Regions from separate parts of the Homo sapiens genome. Here all the other regions are linked to region 5. The links are contacts of gene promoters, found by promoter capture Hi-C in blood cells and fetal thymus (Javierre and others, 2016). All regions are on one chromosome and are shown on one strand. The core of a region is centred on a gene start or on the middle of the fragment in contact, and the rest is flanking DNA. Distances in the headings are between cores, read along the strand shown. Region 1 overlaps RNF144A (ring finger protein 144A). Region 2 has its middle 320 kb from the start of LINC01871. Region 3 has its middle 200 kb from the start of GRASLND. Region 4 has its middle 130 kb from the start of GRASLND. Region 5 holds the start of ID2 (inhibitor of DNA binding 2). Region 6 has its middle 180 kb from the start of GRASLND. Region 7 overlaps LOC101929452 (a long non-coding RNA gene).

Evidence for each region. The method cuts DNA at HindIII sites, captures the fragments that hold promoters and counts their contacts. A CHiCAGO score of 5 or more calls a contact.
Region 1: a fragment that was not itself captured here is called in contact with the fragment with the promoter of ID2 in region 5 in 1 of 17 cell types (naive CD4 T cells); the score reaches 5.1 in naive CD4 T cells.
Region 2: a contact is called between a fragment that was not itself captured here and the fragment with the promoter of ID2 in region 5, in 1 of 17 cell types (total B cells). The highest score is 7.9, in total B cells.
Region 3: a fragment that was not itself captured here is called in contact with the fragment with the promoter of ID2 in region 5 in 2 of 17 cell types (total B cells and naive B cells); the score reaches 6.8 in total B cells.
Region 4: a fragment that was not itself captured here is called in contact with the fragment with the promoter of ID2 in region 5 in 1 of 17 cell types (total B cells); the score reaches 8.4 in total B cells.
Region 6: a fragment that was not itself captured here is called in contact with the fragment with the promoter of ID2 in region 5 in 6 of 17 cell types (total B cells, naive B cells, naive CD4 T cells and 3 more); the score reaches 16.9 in total B cells.
Region 7: a fragment that was not itself captured here is called in contact with the fragment with the promoter of ID2 in region 5 in 1 of 17 cell types (total B cells); the score reaches 9.4 in total B cells.

The regions. Positions count from the first base shown.
Region 1 is chr2:6,918,912-6,921,680 of GRCh38, forward strand. The region is part of intron 1 of RNF144A (ring finger protein 144A); the gene reads left to right. Among named protein-coding and RNA genes, the nearest start is that of GRASLND, 1.6 kb to the left of the region's middle. The HindIII fragment of the contact is 1,970 bases long and covers 266-2,235 here.
Region 2 is chr2:7,406,951-7,409,717 of GRCh38, forward strand. No RefSeq gene overlaps it. Among named protein-coding and RNA genes, the nearest start is that of LINC01871, 320 kb to the right of the region's middle. The HindIII fragment of the contact is 169 bases long and covers 1,345-1,513 here.
Region 3 is chr2:7,112,892-7,115,655 of GRCh38, forward strand. No RefSeq gene overlaps it. Among named protein-coding and RNA genes, the nearest start is that of GRASLND, 200 kb to the left of the region's middle. The HindIII fragment of the contact is 1,401 bases long and covers 631-2,031 here.
Region 4 is chr2:7,049,499-7,052,370 of GRCh38, forward strand. It overlaps a transcript of RNF144A not described here. Among named protein-coding and RNA genes, the nearest start is that of GRASLND, 130 kb to the left of the region's middle. The HindIII fragment of the contact is 7,501 bases long and covers 1-2,872 here.
Region 5 is chr2:8,680,519-8,683,455 of GRCh38, forward strand. ID2 (inhibitor of DNA binding 2) reads left to right here and starts at 1,538. Exons shown (of 3, transcript NM_002166.5): 1 at 1,538-1,995; 2 at 2,325-2,388. The coding sequence starts at 1,648. The coding sequence ends at 2,381. ID2-AS1 (ID2 antisense RNA 1) reads right to left here and starts at 1,345. Exons shown (of 4, transcript NR_110154.1): 1 at 1,309-1,345. RefSeq lists enhancers at 737-1,240, 1,728-1,777. The HindIII fragment of the contact is 3,638 bases long and covers 451-2,937 here.
Region 6 is chr2:7,094,075-7,096,818 of GRCh38, forward strand. No RefSeq gene overlaps it. Among named protein-coding and RNA genes, the nearest start is that of GRASLND, 180 kb to the left of the region's middle. The HindIII fragment of the contact is 1,351 bases long and covers 735-2,085 here.
Region 7 is chr2:7,066,085-7,068,926 of GRCh38, forward strand. The region is part of intron 2 of LOC101929452 (a long non-coding RNA gene); the gene reads right to left. It also overlaps a transcript of RNF144A not described here. Among named protein-coding and RNA genes, the nearest start is that of GRASLND, 150 kb to the left of the region's middle. The HindIII fragment of the contact is 549 bases long and covers 1,128-1,676 here.

The DNA of each region.
Region 1 (2,769 bases), core at 1-2,500, 1.8 Mb before region 5:
TCTAGCTCCTGCACTAAGAGCCTGGGAAGAAAACACTTCCCGTAATGGGGCCTGGGAGATGGAAGGAGGACATGCCCCAGTGAATGGGGCTGGGGTTGAGAGTTGAGCCTGGCAGATAAGATGGATTTGTAAATGAAATGCCAGGTAGAAAGTAAGTTGGTGTAGACGCCTGTGGAGCTGTGGGAGCCCCCAGGAGGGAAGGGAGGGAGTCAGGGTGTCCCTGCAAAGGGAGTCCCCTTTGCAAGGGAGGGGGTGTCTGAGTCAAAGCTTGCAGGTGGGGCAGGTCAGAGGTGGCAGGAAGGGCCTCTGTCCAGAGAGAGCTGCTCCAGCGCAGGAAGGGGGAGGGACAAGGTGTGTGACACCGTGAACTTTCCCAGGGGATTCACCCAGTGGCTCCAAAGGAGACAACAGCCTTTTTTATTGTATTCTCTTCTCCGGTACTGAGATTAGGGAACCTTGTTTTTTGCACTTTTCTAATGCCTTTTACATTTTTGTTTTTATTTTTAAAGCGTGCAAAGGAAATGTGACTAGAGGGGTCAGAAGAGGATAAATCATGAAATCTTTGAATTCTAGGCCAAGACTTTGGGTTTGACTCTGTGTCAGTGGGAGCCATTGATGGTTTTGGAGGAGGAGGGTGATCTGAGCCCTGCTTTAGAGTGATTTCCGCGGTGTTGCGTGGAAGGGAAGGCATGGTGTGGTGTGCCTTACTGTGGCTTCCGAGTCAGACCCCCACTGGCTGTGGGCTTCCACCTGCATCAGGCATCAAAGGCTGTGGATGGATTGAGGACCTCATGAGAAAATGGGTGCAAATAACCCAATTTTAATGGGATGGAAATTTTCCAGACCCAGTGCAATTTGATTTTTGCAGTTTGTGTTTTTAAAGAGCTCCCGATTCTAATGTCAGCAACTCTGGAAGAGGAACTAATGAAGGGCAAACTCAAATGCACGATGCAGGCACCCCCAGGTCATCTGTGCCATGAGGATTTGGGAAACTCAAAGAGCATTGTAAAATGCATATATTTTATAAATAGATTCCAGTGCCCTCAGCTTGCTAGTTGGTAATCCCTGTATCCAGACTGTTGCTAGAGTAAGTCACGTCTCCTGGGGATTCAGTGTGGTTTGGGACTTTGAAGGGACCTCACACTGTTTGGCTGAAGCTGCTGAGGTTCAGGGGTAGAAGTGCCACTCTGGCAGGCGGCGGCAGGGTTGGGAGCTACAAGCTACGTTGCCTGCCTCTGAGAACATTCTTTCCCCTGTGGTCCACCACGTGGCCCCACTGCCTACTTTTGTTCACATTTCTCCCTCCTGGAAGCCTTTCCCTCTGGGGGTAGAGATGGGAAGGAAGCCTGCCCTTGGAGACTGACAATCACAGAACCAGGTGGGCCAGCACCCACCTGGCCTATGAACCCTTGTTGTAACCATGGGAACCTCGTAGCTTGGAAAGGAGGGGTCAGGTAGCCCAGGCCACATGAAAAGCTGTGGCTGGTCCAGCCCTGGCATCAGCTTTTCTGGTTCTGTCTGCTGTCCCTTTTTTCCCATACCTCACTTGCAATAGAAGAGGATGAAGCCGTGCTCGCTGCCCTGCACGTTGGGTGGTCTGGAACCATTCAGGATGATATTGAGCCCTCAGACTCTCTTAGAGCAAGGAACCCCTGGCTTCACAGGATGTGGGATCTCAGAGGCAGCCCAGAGGCGGGGAATGGAATGGAGTGCTTCTAAGGAAGAGGGACTCTCCGTGTTTTCTCTGGGGAATTTTCTAACATTGAGATCGAAGAATGAAGTTGGAGGTGCCTTTCTTTTCTTTAAGAAGTAATCATTTCCAAGACTAGCCTCCTTTCTCCGTTGTTTCTGCATTACTGAAACACATGAATACCCTTTCTTAGTTAGATGAAGAAATTAAATTGAAGCCACTGCTCACATACCTGCTGGGTAGTGGGGCTGAAGGATAGAGCTTATTACAATTTCCTGACCCAGCTGTCTGGCCCTGGGCCAGCGTCTTAACCTCCCTGGATGGCTCCAGTTTTTTGAGGATAAAACTGAGGTGTTGGTGTAAATATTTTCCAAGATCCAGAAATAAAAATGTACTGTTGGATCATATTTTTTTTCCAGGAGAATAAATATTACAGGACGACTCACCAAGTACAACCATTCGTAAGGGTTTGTTTGTTTCCCAAGAGAAAATATTTTAACTTTCAGAAGAGTGGATTTTTTCCAAAGTGAAATGGTGAGAAATGAAGCTTTGAGGAGGGTGGCTCATTGCTGATAGGAGCCTTCACCTTGCTTCACTCCACAAATAACCCAAGACCTGAATTTAAAGGTGCTTACTTCCTGGATGTTCCGTAGAACTGGAAGGCAGGCTTTCTCTAAGGAGCAGGCTTATAAGCTGGATGCAGTGTTCCAGACAAAAGCAAGCTCCTTGGTGGCATGCAGTGTGTCAACCAGTATTTTATCATCTCAGGTGTGTTTGGCACTAGAGGTGGAGGAGGTGGTTGATACTCATTATGGATTTGCCTGATCTTCAGGGCTTTGCTTGCATCGTGGATGCAGTTCTCACACAGCCCTGCAGCACAGGCGTATGTTGCTATCCCTAGCTGACAGAGGAGCAGAGTGAAGCAGAGAGCAGGGATGTTGTCCAACATCGCACACACGTCGTCAATTTTGAAGCCTGGCTTTGAACCCAGAGGCCTGCAGATAAGGATAGATCCCATGACCTTGAGGAGGCTGTAGTCTAGGGAGCGGGAAGCTCAAACATTAACAGATTGAACCGTG
Region 2 (2,767 bases), core at 179-2,678, 1.3 Mb before region 5:
AGCCGGAGACATTCGTCTGCTGTTGGAATGGAAACCAGTAATGAAAAGATAACACTGTATATGCATATTTGCACTTTACAGTTTGCAAAGAGCTCTATACTTTACACATGACAAATGTGATTTCAAATACTCTCAGCTAAACACCAACTACTGGGGCCTCTTGTGTTTGCAAGACAGCCAAGCCTTCAGACATAGGCTCAATATTTCATGGCTGATGAGATGTAAAATCCTCTCCTACGATAAAAGCGTCTGTGAATGTGTGAGTGACAAGCGGCATGGCGTCGTGAAACACGTGGGCTCCAGTCCTGGCTGTCCCAAGTCCCTCTCTGAGTGACAGTCTGCTCATCTGTTGAATGGGGATTATTCCCCGCATTGCCCACCTTACAGGGTTAGGTGGGGTCAGAAGAAAATCCATTTGAGAAACTGCCTTGGAAATTATAAAGTTTTATGTACATGTTACTAATATTACGAATAGTCTAAGGCTGACATACTCTCAGGAATATTATGATTCTACATAGAATCTTTATCAGACAATAAACCTAGACTTCCCAAAGACCTTACCTCTTTGTTAAAACAAGAACACTTTATATCACATCCTCTTTGGCATTTCCCTCAGAAAAGGCCTGGAACAAAACCATGTAGACCGAATTCGGTCTGTCTGGTGCTTTTGGCGTTGCATTTTTTTTTTCCTCCCTGCATTTCTCATTTAAGCTTGACAATATCCCTGTGAAGTAGGTAACACCTCTGAGACTTCACCTTTGATGAACCAATGCTTAGAAATTTGAAGATTTCTCCAAGACTCAGCTAGGAGGAGTCGGGATTGGAACCCATGCCTTCTGATCCTGACAACTGAGGCATTGTCAGTGGTCGGCTTTCTTTGGGGGATCCAGCAGGCTCTGGTTCAGTCTTTCTTGGGAGCTTGCTGCTTTAGAAAACCTTTTCTCATTTCTGTTTGGTCATATGAGATTTCATCTCTGGCTTCCCAAGCGTCTCTGTGGGAAGGGGACTTGAAGCCAGTTTGGAGTTTTAGTAGAAACTTCTCCAGTACAAGGCAGGTACTCAGGGGTGGGTGCAGACTTGATTTTACAAGTACATCTGTTCTGTTTATTTTTGCTTCTTTGCAGTATTATCAACTTCTGCTCCATATGGGTGATCCATATTGTGCCTTGGTGAAATGATACCACATTATGCTTTTATGCCTTTATCATCAAACACTACTCATGAAAAAATCACCAGGTTTGCCTAGGTTCATCTGTTCAATTTATTTTTCCCAAACTTTATTTTGAATAAAACACCTACGGTAAATGTGATTTATGTAAATGAATAAAACAAAACTGTTATATAAGCTTTTTTGACATCATTCAGTCCCATCCTGTCGGGGCGCCACTATACAAAATCCTCTGGCAGCATGTTTTCCATAGGATTATATTATTTCTGAAATCGCAGAGCCAAAGAGATAAAACTATAATATACTTTCAAATGCTTTAATTTAATTTTTTCTCTTCTCTCCCCAAGCTTCCCATATGGAGGAACTCCAATATTTTAAGAGAAGCTTTTACTTATGAGAATCTTGCAGCACTATTCCAAGTGCCTGTAGCTATTCCTCTCTCTCATACTCTCTGCCTTTCTCTATTTTTCTCACACCTCGCTCCCTGATTTTATTTAAAGAATGGCAATCTATCTTTCCTTCCCCCTCCCTCCTTTATTGTTATATTTTCTTACTTTCTACCCCCTGGGACCCTGAATGGAAGAATTTTCATTTTCCAAGCTGGTGCTAGGGGCCAAGTCCTGTGCCCTGGATTGACACACATCATCTCACGTATTTCACAGGATGCACAGCCCTGGCAGGTGTTCTTATCTCCACTGGGCAGATGGGAAATGAAGGCTTGGGAAGCTGAAGGGCCTGCCCGGCTCAAGGGCACAGCACTAGACTAACGGTGGTGCCACTGAACTTGGGGACATCCATGTGTATGCAGGCCATCTTGGAGGATGAAGGCCTTTGCGCTCACTCTTCCACTGATGGAGACCACTATGTGTAGTTAATGCCCTGGGTAGCAAGCCCTGGCTTCTGCTAACCGAGGCTCACCACATGGGAGACCCAATGGGTCATTTCATCCTGAGGAAGCTCCCGAGGGCCTAAATGTCAGCCTGCACTGGCTCCTTTGTTCCATAAGGCAAGGAAACTGAGTCCCAGAGAGAAGGTCACGGCCTTCCCAAAGCAACACATCTAGCAATACGAAGTGTGTGATAATGAGATCCTTGAGCTCTGTGTGCAGCATGCATTTCCTTATCACCTAACACTCAATTGAAGACCCACACTGGCCCCAGAATGAAGAAGTAAACCACTGATTAATTCACTAAATATTAGTTTACAAGAACTTCTTAAAGTACATGTGTTATATCAAATGAGGTAATAGACATTTACATTTAACATACTATATGAAAGCTTTTTCAAATTATACATTAGTTAAATACATGTTATTTTGGTTGTTGTAAATGTGAACATTTAAGAACAAAAGTGAATTAAACTTAATCCTTCCATCATAAACAAATGTCAGCTGGCTTGGGTACCTTTGGCTCATTTTTATCATGTTTGTTGAGAGCTCTGTCTTTTATCAAAAGTTGAATTTGCATTACTATTGATAAATCCTCTACAAGATTTTTCAAAGAGTTCTTTAAATTTTGTTGTAATTTCAGACACAATATTCAAGCACTGAACTCTTCAGCCCAGTGATTTTCCTGTGGATTACTCATCAGAAGATACACA
Region 3 (2,764 bases), core at 81-2,580, 1.6 Mb before region 5:
CTTCTACTATGGAAGATGAGAATTTAAAGGTCAAACCACACGCTCTTCATGTATATTTTTCATTTAAAGAATGATTTTTTCTTGTGTACCCAGCAATGATTCTTTTTGAAATGAATTTTAGAATCCCATTCAATGTAGTCAACTCCATAGAAAATATATTGATCTCATTGCTGTATTTTGAGACACCGTTCTGAGACCTTCCATCTGCTGGAACACGGACAGCTCCTCACTGGGTCTGTGGCATTGGTGTCAACTGGGACTTTACCAATATCCTGTAAAATTATTTTACGTCACAAATATTTTGGTATTCCTGTTTTCTAAATGTAATGACTTCCTCTTTTGTTTGGAGTCTCCTCCTTCAGCCGTTGGAGCAAATCTTTTGGTCTCTTATTGAGAACTTTGGCAGAGGTGGTAAATCTAGTGACACATTGCATGAAAAACATAAACTTACTTGGGGCTAATATTTTGGTTTGCTTGGATATATAATTCTAGATCAGAAATGGCTTCAATCTCAGAATGTTAGATTCTGCAGATATTGCTGCATTGTATTGTAGTAATCATTTTTAGGTTCGATAAATTTGGTTCCTATCTGAGTCTTGTTCCTTTGGAGACACTTGCTTCTCCTCTGAAAGCTTTTAGTCTCTTATCTTAACTTCTAATATTCTGAAATTTTGCTGTAATGTTTCTTGCTCTGGATTTTTTTTTCTTTCTTTTCTTTCATTTATTGAGTAAAGCACTTTCTGGAATTATTATTTTTGAGGTCTTTAATTTTTTTCAAGTAACCTTTTTATTATCTTACCTTTTCCTGTTTTCCCTCTTCTACAGTTTTAATAGTTTTATAGTGTTCAAATTTCCAGGAGATTTTTTTTCAGACTTAGCTTTCAGCCCTTTTCTTGAGTTTTAAATTTTGTCTATTATGGTTTTAATTTCCATAATTAAAAACTCTATTTTAATATATAGCTCTATGATTCTTTTATTATTCACTTTAATCATTCTTATTTTGTGGCTGCAAAAATTATCACAGACTGGCCTAAAACAAAGAAATTTATTGTCTCGCAGTCCTGAAGGCCAATATTCTGAAATCATATTGCTGTATGGAAATCCAGGTGTTGTCAGGGCTGTCTCAAGAGCTCCAAGGGAGGATCTGTCCTTGCTTCTTTCAGTTTCTGTTTGCTGACAGCATTCTTTGGCTTGTGGCTACATCACACCAATCTCTGCCTCTATGGTCACATGGCCACTTTCTCTCTGTATGTCAAATCTTCCTCTACCTCCCTCTTACAAACATACAAGTGACTGCATTTAGGGCTCATCTGGATAATCCAGGAAAACTGCCTCATCTCAAGATTCTTAACTTAATTACATCTTCAAAAATCTTTTTTTTTTTTTTCAAAAAATTAACATTTCCATGTTTTAGGAATTAGGACCCAGATACCATTCAACGGCTATTATTCAGCCCATCACAGTTATTCAATAGAAAATAAAAATACTTTGCTTCTGAGAGATTTTCTTAGATCATTTATTTAATAATTCTCTTTAATTTACTTTGTTTGCACTTTCTGGAATTCTTAATTTTGAGATCTTTGATTTTTTTCATACTAATTTTTTTATTTTGTTACCTTTTATTTCTCATCTTCTATAGTTTTTGAATTTCCAGGAGGGTTTCTCAAACTTAGCTTCCAGCCCTTTCCTTGTGTTTTAAATTTTATCTATTATAGTTTTAATTTCTATAAAAACTCTATTTTAATATAGAGCTCTTTGGTTCTCTTATTGTTTGATTTTCATAGCATTCTGTTCTTGTTTCATGAATACAGTATCTTATCTCCTTGGGGATATTAAATCTATTTTTAAAAGTTGTTTTTCTACTTATTGTATTGCCTCCATTTTCTTTTTCTCTGCTCTTACATTTTGATTTGTCTTTCATGTTGGAGGCTTTCCTCAAATGGCTAGTGCTGCTTGGTTTTCTGCTTAAAAACTCAAATACTAAAAAGCTGATTGGAAGGTCTATGTGTATGTGTGGCTTATTAATTGGCAAGCTTCACTTAGAGTCATGTTGCTTGGGATAGACAGGATGGTGCCCTAGGACTGTATCTTACATGTTGGGCTCTTCCATTCTCCAGAACAATTCTCTCATCGCCTGCCTGGGGTGTGCTGAGACCCAAGGAAAGAAGGAGGTTGGGAAGACTTCCTCTTTGTTATGATGACTTATTTATTTCCTGTGTCTTCAGCCTCATACTTTATCTTTTCTCTCTTCTTTACCAGCTACCTCTAAATCTAGAGACTCTGGTTCAATTTCTCCATCTTGTCAACACCTGGTATCCCGCCTGGACAGAGGAGTGTTGTTTCACTACTCAGGGTGGAGCACTTGGGCTGGAGTGCATGCTCTGTCTGGGAGTCTAATTAGCCTTTCTTTTTTTATTTTCTCTTGTGACTACTGCTTTCAGAAGTAAGTGGGGGTTCCAATTTCTAAGATTTTCTATGGCCTTAATAAACAATTGAATTTAACATACAACCATTTTTATTTATTTATTTTTGGATAAACAACAGACACTGAGCACAGTCCATGTGTCAGCTACGCTGGGCATAATCTGGGGAATGGGATTGTTTGGTGAGGTGAAGTATCAGTAGAGGAGCATGCAAGAGATAATCAAGAATTAATTGAGAACAGTCAGGACAAAACCAATCAGAAAAGTCCCTATGTGCTGTACCTTAGAGGTTGAATTCATTTTGTGGGCAATGGGGTTCCCATGAAAGGTTTGAAACAGAG
Region 4 (2,872 bases), core at 60-2,559, 1.6 Mb before region 5:
GAGTCTCTTGGAATCCACAAAGGATGAAGATGACAAAAATTCAACTGTGCTCAGCGATTTGAGTTTTCAACGACACGAAAATGAGGTTGCAGTCAGAGTGGATCTTTTTCTCATTTCTGCACAACTCTTAATACATTGTTGGTGCACAATGAATGTTAAATAATAATTTAATGTTTTTATTAATGACAAAGGAGGAATCAACATATTAATGAAACTTGCAGATGATACTAAGCTGGGAGTTATTACAAACACCAATTAGGAGATGAAGACGATGAAGAGGGACCGAGGAAAGAAAGTTCCAACAAAGTGAGCTTCTGTCTTGCAAATACAAGCAAATGCACCTGCAAAAAATGTGTACTGTGGGAAGCTCAGAAGGCGAGGCTAACACAGGCTTAGGAGGGAAAGCAGTCCAAATGCAACGGCTTTTGGAAACGCCAGGGGCAGGATGTGTGATGAAAGTCATAAGAAAAAGCACAATCTCCTCGGCTTTTTCAGTCGAAAATGCATTCGATACCAAGTTTCATTTGGTTGCACGTTGGAAGCTGGTCATGACTTTGAAGGAAGAACTGTTTGCCTTTCCCAGGAGATGAATTCACGAGTGAGTAGGACCTGGTTCCCTGTCCTCAGTTCGGGTCCTGATATGGTTTGGCTGTGTCCCCACCCAAATCTCACTTTGAATTATAACAATCCCCACACGTCCAGGGTGGCGCCAGGTGGAGATAATTGAACCATGGTGGTGGTTTCCCCATATTGTTCTCGTGGTAGTGAATAAGTCTCAGGAGATCTTATGGTTTTATAAATGGGAGTTCCCCTACGCAAGCTCTCTTGCCTGCCGCCAAGTAAGACATGACTTTGCTCCTCCTTCACCTTCTGCCATGATTGTGGGTCCTCCCCAGCCATGTGGAACTGTGAGTCAGTTAAACCTTTTTTCCTTATAAATGCCTCAGCCTTGGGTATGTCTTTATTAGCAGAGTGAGAACAGACTAATGCAGGTCCTCTTCAGTCTCTCGTGGACACACCTGGGGCCTCCTAAAGTATCTTCTGCTCCCAGCCTCCTCCCTTCTCACCATTCTGTTCCTGGGGCATTCTCTGTTTCCATCTTGTGATGCTTCTGTTGAAAACCATTGAGAGCCTTCTGCTTCCTGTGTCGTTAAATCCAAATTCTTCACCGTTGCCTATATTTCAGTAGCATAAATTCTCTCATATACCTTTAAGGGAATGGAGAGCAACAGTCTTTTGAAAGACAAGCAGATTCTTGGCTCCCTCACTGGCCTCCATGGGGAAGACTTAGGACTCTGTATACCAGCATTGGAGGGGAATGTCGAAGGGAACGGGAGCTCCCAAGGGAGGAAGTGCTGGAATCCCAGTGCTGTCAGGACCACTCAGACCCCGTCTATATTTATAAACAAGGAGAAGCTCAGTGAGGCAGAATGCCTCGGGTGCAGTCTTGAAGCTAGTTCCTGGCAGGGCTTGGACTGAAGTTTAGATCCTCCCTTTTCTTCATCAGTGCCTTGGTACCACACCACACAGACCAATGCAAATGCACGGAGACATCACAGTCTAGTGCGGCAGGCCGGAAGGTGATGATCACACTCCACAGGTGGTAGCAGAGAGGAGCTCCACCCCCTGCAGGAGAAGTCAGAGCAAATTTCTGGAGGAGACGGAATTGGGGTCGGGGATGGAGAGAGCAGGGGGTTGCTCAGAGCACAGATTGGGAGGGAATGCCACCACACAAACACACCCATGCAAGTAAAGCCGCAGACGCCCCAAGAGAGCTTGGCAAACCTTCAGTGCAGAGCTGAGCTCCAGTAGGGTGAGGGGATTGGAGGTGGAGCAGGTGGACGGGGTAGAGCGGTAAGGGACAGAGGGGATGCACTTTTTAAGGTTTAAGCCAGGCTGGAGGATTTCAGGTTAAGGTTGGTGCTGACACAATAAGATATGGGATTTGCCTACGCCACGGTAGCTGCATGTAGGGGAGCTTGGATGCAGAGGATGAGGGCCAGGACATGAGGTTAGGAAGCCGCCAAAAGGAGCAGCGAAGAGGAGATGGGGGTCTATGCCCAGCCTGTGGAGTGGAAAGTAACAAGTATCAGTAAAAAGACAGTTGAGGGCAGGCACAGTGGCTCACGCCTGTAATCCCAGCACTTTGGGAGGCCAAGGCGGGTGGATGACCTGAGATCAGGAGTTTGAGACCAGCCTGGCCAACATGGTGAAATGTCATCTCTACTAAAGATACAAAAATTAGCTGGGCATGGCGGTGGGTGCCTGTAATCCCAGCTACTTGGGAGGCTGAGGCAGGAGAATCGCTTGAATCCAAGAGTGTGGCTCCCAGATGAAGATGTTCTGCCCTGGCTGCTCCACTCCGGTCTGGTCTGGCTGCTTCAACCTCATGGGATCTTCCTGAGCTTAGTGCTGACTTCCAAGAGTATCAATGAATCCCCCAGTATTCAGAATAACCCAAGGACACCCTCACCCAGGTATGCCCAATTCTCACTCATATTACTCCTCCCTTAGTCCATCTTAATTAGAATGCCTAATTGGAAGTAACATAAATACCTCCAAAATGCCCTATTGCCTCTGTAGCTGTGCCCTGGAGAGAGGAACTCATAAGTTAACAGTCCGTGGTGTCACTCAGAAAGCAGGTGGTTTATACCTTGGCATCACCTCACCTTGATTCTGAACCAGAAAAAAAACAAAACGCTGGCCGTGGCAAACATGAGAAAAGGCTGAGATGATGAGAAACCTTTTTCCTTTCTTCTGTGGTGCTTCACTCCACCTGGGAGCTCACTGCCTAGCATCTAACATGAGGAGCCCCGGCACTTTTCATTTTCTAGTCCTCACAAAAGTGCTACAAATAAATATTATTTTGTGC
Region 5 (2,937 bases), core at 288-2,787:
GAAGGAAAAAACACTGTTTCCCCATTATCGAGCTTTTCTTTCAGCTTCTAGGCCTGCCCCTTCCGCTTTCTGAAATGCAAAGGAGGTAGAGATTGAGGCAGAAAGTAAATAAGATTTGAATATTGCCTTTCCTGGAGTTTTCTAGTTCATTGTTTTCTGGAGCAAATATTTTCAAAAACAAGAAACTGACACACTGTGGTCAAAACAGAATTCTAGATAAGCTACAATTATGTGAAAATTAAGGTATTTAAGTAAATAGCTGCAAACTTTTTAAAACTTAGACTGAAAGAACGAGTTCTTAAAAGATTTTCAGCCAAAAAAAAAAAAAAAAACCTTGAACCCGTATTCAGTACTAGTGCTGAAAAGATTCCAAACCTCATATGACAGAATATTTTTTTTTCCTTAGTGTGAAGATGTCTATCAATGGCTAGGGCCACCTATCTGTCACAAAGCTTTGGAACTCCTCTAGGTGTTGGAATGTGACACCAGAAATCACAATTAGTGCATAATTAATCACATTACTTTGCCACCTACACGGAAGGGCACAGACCGGCAGCCTTTCAAGGGCAGTGTATGTAAATGTAGTTTCAATATGCAAATTCTCCTAATTATTTCCGATTAATACGATCATTATAATAGCCCTGCCTCCTTCTTGAAAAGGAACCCTGAAAGCGCCCTGCCTGTGAGAGCTCCTTAGCGACCGGTGAGGTTGGGCATGGTTTGCAATAAGTACTCATTTTCTTGAGTTTACAGTAATGCCTCCCGCGCTGCTCCGGGTTGCAAAAGCCCACACTAAGCCTGTCGTCGAATGCGTGCGTGGGTGGTTTGTTTGTGTTAACATAACTTTTCCTTATCTGAAGAGACGAACTCACTCTACAAACGTGACTCTTCAGTGACAACCTAATTTGCGTTTTCACTTTCTTCTGAAATGCTTTCTATCTTTCCTCACGCTCTCCCTCCGATGGGTTGCAGTGAACTGTGGCTTCCCCCCTGCGGTGCTGAACTCGCCCGTGTAGCTGTGATTTTAGAGCTGCCGACAGCTCTAAGGTGTGTAGGGCTTGGTCTGGGAACACCCCCAGGGCAAGGGTCCCGCCGCGCGCTTGGAATTAGAATTAAGAATGCATATTTAGGCGCCCAGGGTCTGCCCCCTTCTCCCTCCTCCTTCCCCTCCCCCTTCCCCTCCCCCTTCCCCTCCCCCATCTTCCCTTCTCTTCCTCCTCCCTCCTCCTCTCCCTCCTCCCGCCTCCCTCCTCCCCGCCCCCCGCCCGCCGCTCCCCGCCCCCCGCCCCCCGCCAGCCCCGCACTTACTGTACTGTACTCTATTTACCACCCCAGCTGGGCTCGCGCCCCGCCCACCCCGCGGGGATTGGCTGCGAACGCGGAAGAACCAAGCCCACGCCCCGCGCCCGCGCCCACCAATGGAAGCGCCCGCTCGTCTTGATAGACGTGCCACCTTCCGCCAATGGGGACGAAGGGAAGCTCCAGCGTGTGGCCCCGGCGAGTGCGGATAAAAGCCGCCCCGCCGGGCTCGGGCTTCATTCTGAGCCGAGCCCGGTGCCAAGCGCAGCTAGCTCAGCAGGCGGCAGCGGCGGCCTGAGCTTCAGGGCAGCCAGCTCCCTCCCGGTCTCGCCTTCCCTCGCGGTCAGCATGAAAGCCTTCAGTCCCGTGAGGTCCGTTAGGAAAAACAGCCTGTCGGACCACAGCCTGGGCATCTCCCGGAGCAAAACCCCTGTGGACGACCCGATGAGCCTGCTATACAACATGAACGACTGCTACTCCAAGCTCAAGGAGCTGGTGCCCAGCATCCCCCAGAACAAGAAGGTGAGCAAGATGGAAATCCTGCAGCACGTCATCGACTACATCTTGGACCTGCAGATCGCCCTGGACTCGCATCCCACTATTGTCAGCCTGCATCACCAGAGACCCGGGCAGAACCAGGCGTCCAGGACGCCGCTGACCACCCTCAACACGGATATCAGCATCCTGTCCTTGCAGGTAAGACCTGCTCCGGGGTCCCCGCCCCGCCGCCGCACACTCCCGCGGTCGTCTGGGCTGTCACTAGGAGATCCGTAGCCCAGACGGTGACTTTCGTATGAGCTATTTAACTTTATTTTCTTCAGAATCTGCTGTAGATTGAGCTGTGCGTGAAATTGCTAGTAAGTTCTGACATGTTAATGCGTCTGTCTTTAAATCTGAATTGTTACCATAAACGTGTTTAATGGAACTTGCTGGTCTGTGGACTACAAAAAAAAAAAAAAAAAAAAAAAAACCCTTTCTACTTAACATTGTCTTAACCTCGTACTCTTTATCCTCTTTCTTTCCAGGCTTCTGAATTCCCTTCTGAGTTAATGTCAAATGACAGCAAAGCACTGTGTGGCTGAATAAGCGGTGAGTGTTTGCTTGTGCCACCCGTGGGTAAACTGCCCCTCGGTGTGTGTGCGCGCGCGCGCATGTGTTTTTGCTTGTGTATCTATAAAATGTCTGATTTGGTAAATGCATGCTTACTTCGCGGTGTTACCCGTACTACATTGTCTCACTAGACATGAAGGAGCTTGTAGCTTTGGGTGCTCGAGATCACAGAACATTTTCCTTTAAAAGGAAATGATGCCAATAACTTACTACGAAGGCGGCCGAGGAACGTGTGTATTGGCTTTGTAGCAAATGTAATGCCCTGGATCTTCCTACGAGTCCTCTGGTACTATGAGGTACTAACCTCCACTGTAATTAATCTTACCGCCACAAATTCCATAGTGATCCTCCTTCCCTAAAACTATAGTCCTCTGGGATTCTCTGGGCTAGTTGAGGATTGCTACCCTGTGCCTTCAACCCTGTGATGTGGGATCCCAGACTTCCCTATCTGTTAACTAAAGGGCTGTTTTCAATCAAATAATTGTTACGAGAAGCAGACTGGCGCCTGTAGCACTGCTGTTGGAGATC
Region 6 (2,744 bases), core at 160-2,659, 1.6 Mb before region 5:
GAAACGCAAGGTGAATCTGAAAAAGAAGGACCACCACAGCTGAGAGAAATTTGCAGGAGGGAAATGTGGGGGAGAGCTTGGAACTCTCACTGTCTCTGGAACGGGGGTCCAACAAGCTCACCTCAGCGGCTTGAGGGTTCTGATCACTGCATCTGCCGTGTCCTAATGTTACAGTAGGTAGCTAGTCAGGCATGAGCAGGGCAGGGGAGGGCTCCCCACCCACACACCAGGAGTGTCTGGTGACGGTCAGGTGACGGTCAGGCGGTTGTAAAGTGTCTCGCTAAAGTAATAATTGGTCACAGCTGGCACCAGGGAAAGGCCGTCTCCAAATAAAAAGAAAACACCTAAAACTGGTGATCAGCAGCTTCCCAATAAGATCTCAGGAAGTGGGCGAGTGAGCTCAAGCATGTGCATTAAGAGGCAAAGTGATGGAGTTTAACTGTTGTATGACCTTCCTGTAGGAATGCTAGTCTGGTAAGGAAAGAATGCCTCAAATAAGCATGCATACAGCTCCAGGAAACACATAGCACACGCTCCACTCCCAACTGCTGGCAGGCCACTGTGCGTGCAGACAGCCCGCCCCAAGGGATGAATCGGGAGAAGGGACACAAGACCCCGGAAGCATGCCAACATATACAAGCCCAAGTCAAAAGGTCAAACCCTGCACTTGTCCTTCAAGTTACCTGCTTGGGCCTCTTCCAAGTGTACTTTCCTTCCTTGTGTTCCTGCTCTAAAGCTTTTTAATCAACTTTCACTCCTGCTCTAAAACTTGCCTTGTTCTCTCCTTCTGCCTTATGCCCCTCAGTTGAATTCTTTCTTCTGAGGAGGCAAGAATTGAGGTTGCTGCAGACCCGTAAGATACGGATTCGCTGCCGGTGACACTAACATAGATGCTGAGCAATAATCCAGAGCAGATACCAGTGGCCTGAGTAGGGGGTTGTGTGACGGAAGGAAGTGTGTTCTTTCAGGATACACTTAGAAGGCAGAATCAGTGGGACATAGTGACTAACTGATGATGAATCCCACATTTCTGTCCTGGGCACCTGGACGATGGTGGGGCCTCCACTTGGTGTGCAGGACTCAGAAGATGGAGCGTATTTTAAGGGAGCAGGAAACTGGCAAGTGTAGGTTTGCCCCAGGGAGTTCAAGGTGCTGCAGAATATCCAAGTGGAAAAGTGACCAGTTGACTCAGATTCTAGGCTTCAGGGGAGACACCTGGGTTGGCAACATAGCTCTGGGAAGATTAGTTTATACTTTGAGACCTATCTGAATTTTTCCATGTGAAAGCATTTAGTTTCATGGATGGAGATGAGTGCATTTGGGTGGGGCAAAGAGGAGACAAGCTCAATGAGCAAAGAAACCCTGTGAGGAGGGAGGGCAGGGCCCTGCTGCAGGGAGAGGAGGCTGGGGGGGAAACATTGCTCAGGGACACACACTATTAAGGCTGTCCTGGGGGTGGCAGGGCCTGTCAAATAGAACTTCGCTTCATGCTGCCTTATCCTTCCCGGGTATGAGCAGGTGTTTGGTGCCTCTTCTGTGCCGGTCAGTAGATTCCCCAGACGGGGCAGTAGAATATCTGGGGGCAGCTGGTCACCTCATACACAGGGCTCAGGAGGAAGCGTCTCCTAAGTCCAAGTGGTAATTTTTTTTTTTTTGAGACAAAGTGTTGCTCTGTCACCCAGGCTGGAGTGCAGTGGCACGATCTTGTCTCACTGCAACCTCCGCCTCCTGAGTCCAAGTGATTCTCCCGCCTCAGCCACCTGAGTAGCTGGGATCACAGGCATGTGCCACCATGCCCAGCTAATTTTTGTATTTTTAGTAGAGACAGGGTTTCACCATGTTTGCCAGGCATGTCTTGACCGCCTGACCTCAAGTGATCCACCCATCTCAGCCTCCCAAAGTGCCGGGATTACAGGCGTGAGCCACCGTGCCCGGCCCACGTGGTGAATTTTAAGTGAGCGGCAGATCCTGGCTCTTCACCATCACTTTTTCCCGTGAAAGACATCCAACGATTGAAAACCTTTGAATTTTTAGCTGGTAAAAGCCTCAGCATTTACTTAGCAAATATTGAGACATTGGATGGGAAGCTTCTGATGTTTCAGGCACTGTGTTCCCTGTTCTGAGGAATAAATAAGATACTTCCCTGTAGGATCTCAGAGATTAGCAGGATGATGAGGCAGGAAAGGGGCCAGGTACTAGGCATGGAGTCCCCAGAATGGGGCACAGGGCTGGAAAAGGCCGGGGAGGACAAGCTTTCCTCCAAGGAGAAGGAGGGAGGTGGCTTTGAACCGACCCTAGAGAGAGGCATGGTGGTTTAGCAAAAGGACCCTGGGGTAAGCCATTTAGGAGGCACAGACTGGGGCCAGGTTTTGTTAGCAGCGGAAGGTCTCTGAGTCACAGGGCACCAAAGTATGTTAGCAGCAGCAACTCCGGACCAGTCTGCAGCAACCTCATTCCTTGCCTCCTCGGAAGAAAGAACTCATCTGAGGAGCATTAGGCAAGGGAGAGACTGAGGCAAGTTTCTGAGCAGGAGTGGAGGTTTCTTAAAAAGCTTTAGAGCAGGAATGAAAAGAAGGAAAGTACACTTGGAAGAGGGCCAAGCAGGAGACTTGAAGGACTAGTGCAGGGTTTGACCCTTTGACTTGGGGTTTTATATGTTGGCATGCCTCCGGGGTCTTGCGTCCCTTCTCCCCTGATTCTCCCCTTGGGGTGGACTGCACGCATGCATGGTGGGCTGCTGGCGC
Region 7 (2,842 bases), core at 152-2,651, 1.6 Mb before region 5:
TTTTTTTCTTTTTTTCTTTTTGAGACGGAGTCTCACTCTGTTGCCCAGGCTGGAGTTCAGTGGCCGGATCTCGGCTCACTACAAGCTCCGCCTCCTGGGTTTACGCCATTCTCCTGCCTCAGCCTCCCGAGTAGCTGGGACTACAGGCGCCCACTATCACGCCCAGCTAATTTTTTGTATTTTTAGCAGAGACGGGGTTTCACCGTGTTAGCCAGGATGGTCTTGATCTCCTGACCTCGTGATCTGCCCACCTCAGCCTCCCAAAGTGCTGGGATTACAGGCGTCAGCCACCATGCCCGGTCAAGTTTTTCTCTTTTATCTTAAGCTATCTATAGCTTAGAACAATTTGGTAATGTATTTCTTTGTGAATAAAGAAGAAATAATTACTTTTGCCTCCTACCCGATCCCTCTGGAATTAGAAAACTATTAGTAAACATTTTTATTTTATGATAATGTAGTTATTTGCATATGTGCAGTAAGAATATGTTTTCCTTGTAACAGTACACAATTGAAAACACTGGATATATTATGAAGGCCTTAACTGGAATGTTGTATCTTCAGATATGACGACTTTAAGAAACTAAGGTTGACTTTATGGAGTCAATAAAGCCTCTTGGAAAAAAATTATCGCCATGTTGTGTTGCATACTTGGTTCACTTACATAGTTTTCTTCCGGGTGAATAAAGAGTGTCACTTCCTGGCAGGCCTAGGAACCCCAGGATATTTTGGAGACCTATAAAAGGGATATTCACTCAAATCCCTAAGTATTTCAGAAACAGCCTGAGAGCAAGTCCTTGGCTTCGCTTTCTAGTTTTAAAAGGCTTTTAACTGTTTAGTCTGAGATTCCCCTAAAAGTTCCAGGAAAGCAAACTCAAAAAGAGCCTAGGTGGTCAATCATTATTTTTGCTGCGTTTATATAAATAATCAGGCCAAGTTAATGAGACTAAACTTATTTTGCAAGCAAATCAGTCTTTGCTTATTTTTGGTAGGAATGGGGGTAAATGGAGAGAGAGAAATTATGTTTCAGAAGAAAACTATAGCACACCTCTTATTGAATTTTAGCCTTGCTCATTGTTTTTGTGGTTTTCTGATTTGTCTACACACTGGACTGGATCCTGAATTCTCCAAGCTTCCTCCAAAATCTGGCAACCACACTCCAGACTAATATTTCCAATTTTCTCCAACCCTTCTGACTTGGAGTCATTAAAATTAAAACTGCTCCTTTCCTGGAGCCCCAAAAGCTGAAGCTGGAGGACTTGATACAGACATCAGAGAGATCACCACAATAGCTCAGGGGTAGACAACCTTCGTGGTGTTAAAACTGAAAACCAGGAAGGTCTATCAACTTGCCACTGCCTGCTCCCACACCACTTGAAGAGGCTTCAAGCTCAGTGTTTAGAAATCTTTTTGATTGGCTGCCCTCTGGGCTCAGAAACTGAGTTTCCGACTATTAAAAAAATCCCCTCATTAAATGCCTGACTGCTTGCACCATCCAGTATGTTGGAACTATCAAGTCCCAACAGGTGACTCAGTGGGTTCTTAGTGAACAAAAGGTGACCACATGAGAAAATGGAGTTACAGCGTTCAAAAGAAAGAAGAATGTCTCTCCTTTCCTTGAACAAGAGGAAGGACTAACAAAAACTCCTTGCTTGGCCAAACTGTAGCCAGTCACCTGAAGCTTCTCCTATGTCTACCTGTGTACTTCCTTGTAAAGTCCATTTTGGGCTAAGAACGCTGCTAAGTCAGTTTATCAAGAACTCCCCCACCCTTGATATCTGACTCAGTATTTTCAATATATGACCAAGTTTCTCATTGTCCATCATCCCCAGGTGATGTCTGATCACCTGGCCTGTTTTCAGCAAGAATCCTGTTAGATTTCTGTAGCCAGAATCCCTGCACCCTCACCCCGATATCTCCTCTTAGTAATTTTCTATCTAGTGGTCCCCACCCTGCTCCTTGGATATAAATTCCCACTTACCAGTGCTGTGCTCCGAGTTGGGCTCAATCTCTCTTCCCTGTTGCAAAATCCCTTTGCAGTGGTCCCTCTATTGTGATGTGATTTACACAAGTATCATTGAGTAAGCTTTTCTGTGCTTTAACAAGTATCAGTGAGTAAGGTTTTCTTTAACAGGGTGATGCCATCTTAGAGAAATGCATTCTCCATAATACTGAATCTGAGTGTCATCTGTAAGAGGTGGGTTGTTTATAACACATTTTAAAGATAAGATTAATACAGAGTAATTCATTTGGGTAGTGGCACCGTGAAACTTTATAGTGAAAATGGTGGTAGGATCTAATGATTGGCTTTTGGGCATTATAGAAGAAAGAAGAATCAAGAGTGGGTTGAGCTTCAGATCCCTCTGGCCGAGAGGATGGTGCTGCTAACAGAAACAATAAGCAGAAGAAGCAGAAAGAGAGGGTGATAGCAGTGATTTTGAGCATTGATATGTTCATCCAGGTTGAGGACATCAGAGGAGAGGAAGAGCATTTCAAAATGTCAGACTGCACTGGCGAATCCGAGTCAGACAAAAGCCAGGCTGAAGATGCCAGCCCAAGGGCTGGGGGTTTTGCTGAGCATAACGGAAGCAGCTGGGTATGAGTGAGGAAACAGAAGTAGAACAATGAGAGATGGCAGATAGAGACGGGGACTGAGATTTCAAGTTCTAAGAGAGAATGATCTTGGAGGATGCCATCAAAGCAAAGTCACAGATAATGTGGAGATGGCCATTACGAGTCTAGGACCCAAGGGGCTTGCATAGACCTGAGTATCATTGTCCCATATGCTGAAGTCACCACACACACACCTAAGTAGAGGCTGCCTGGCACCTCCTGGGTTCCAGCC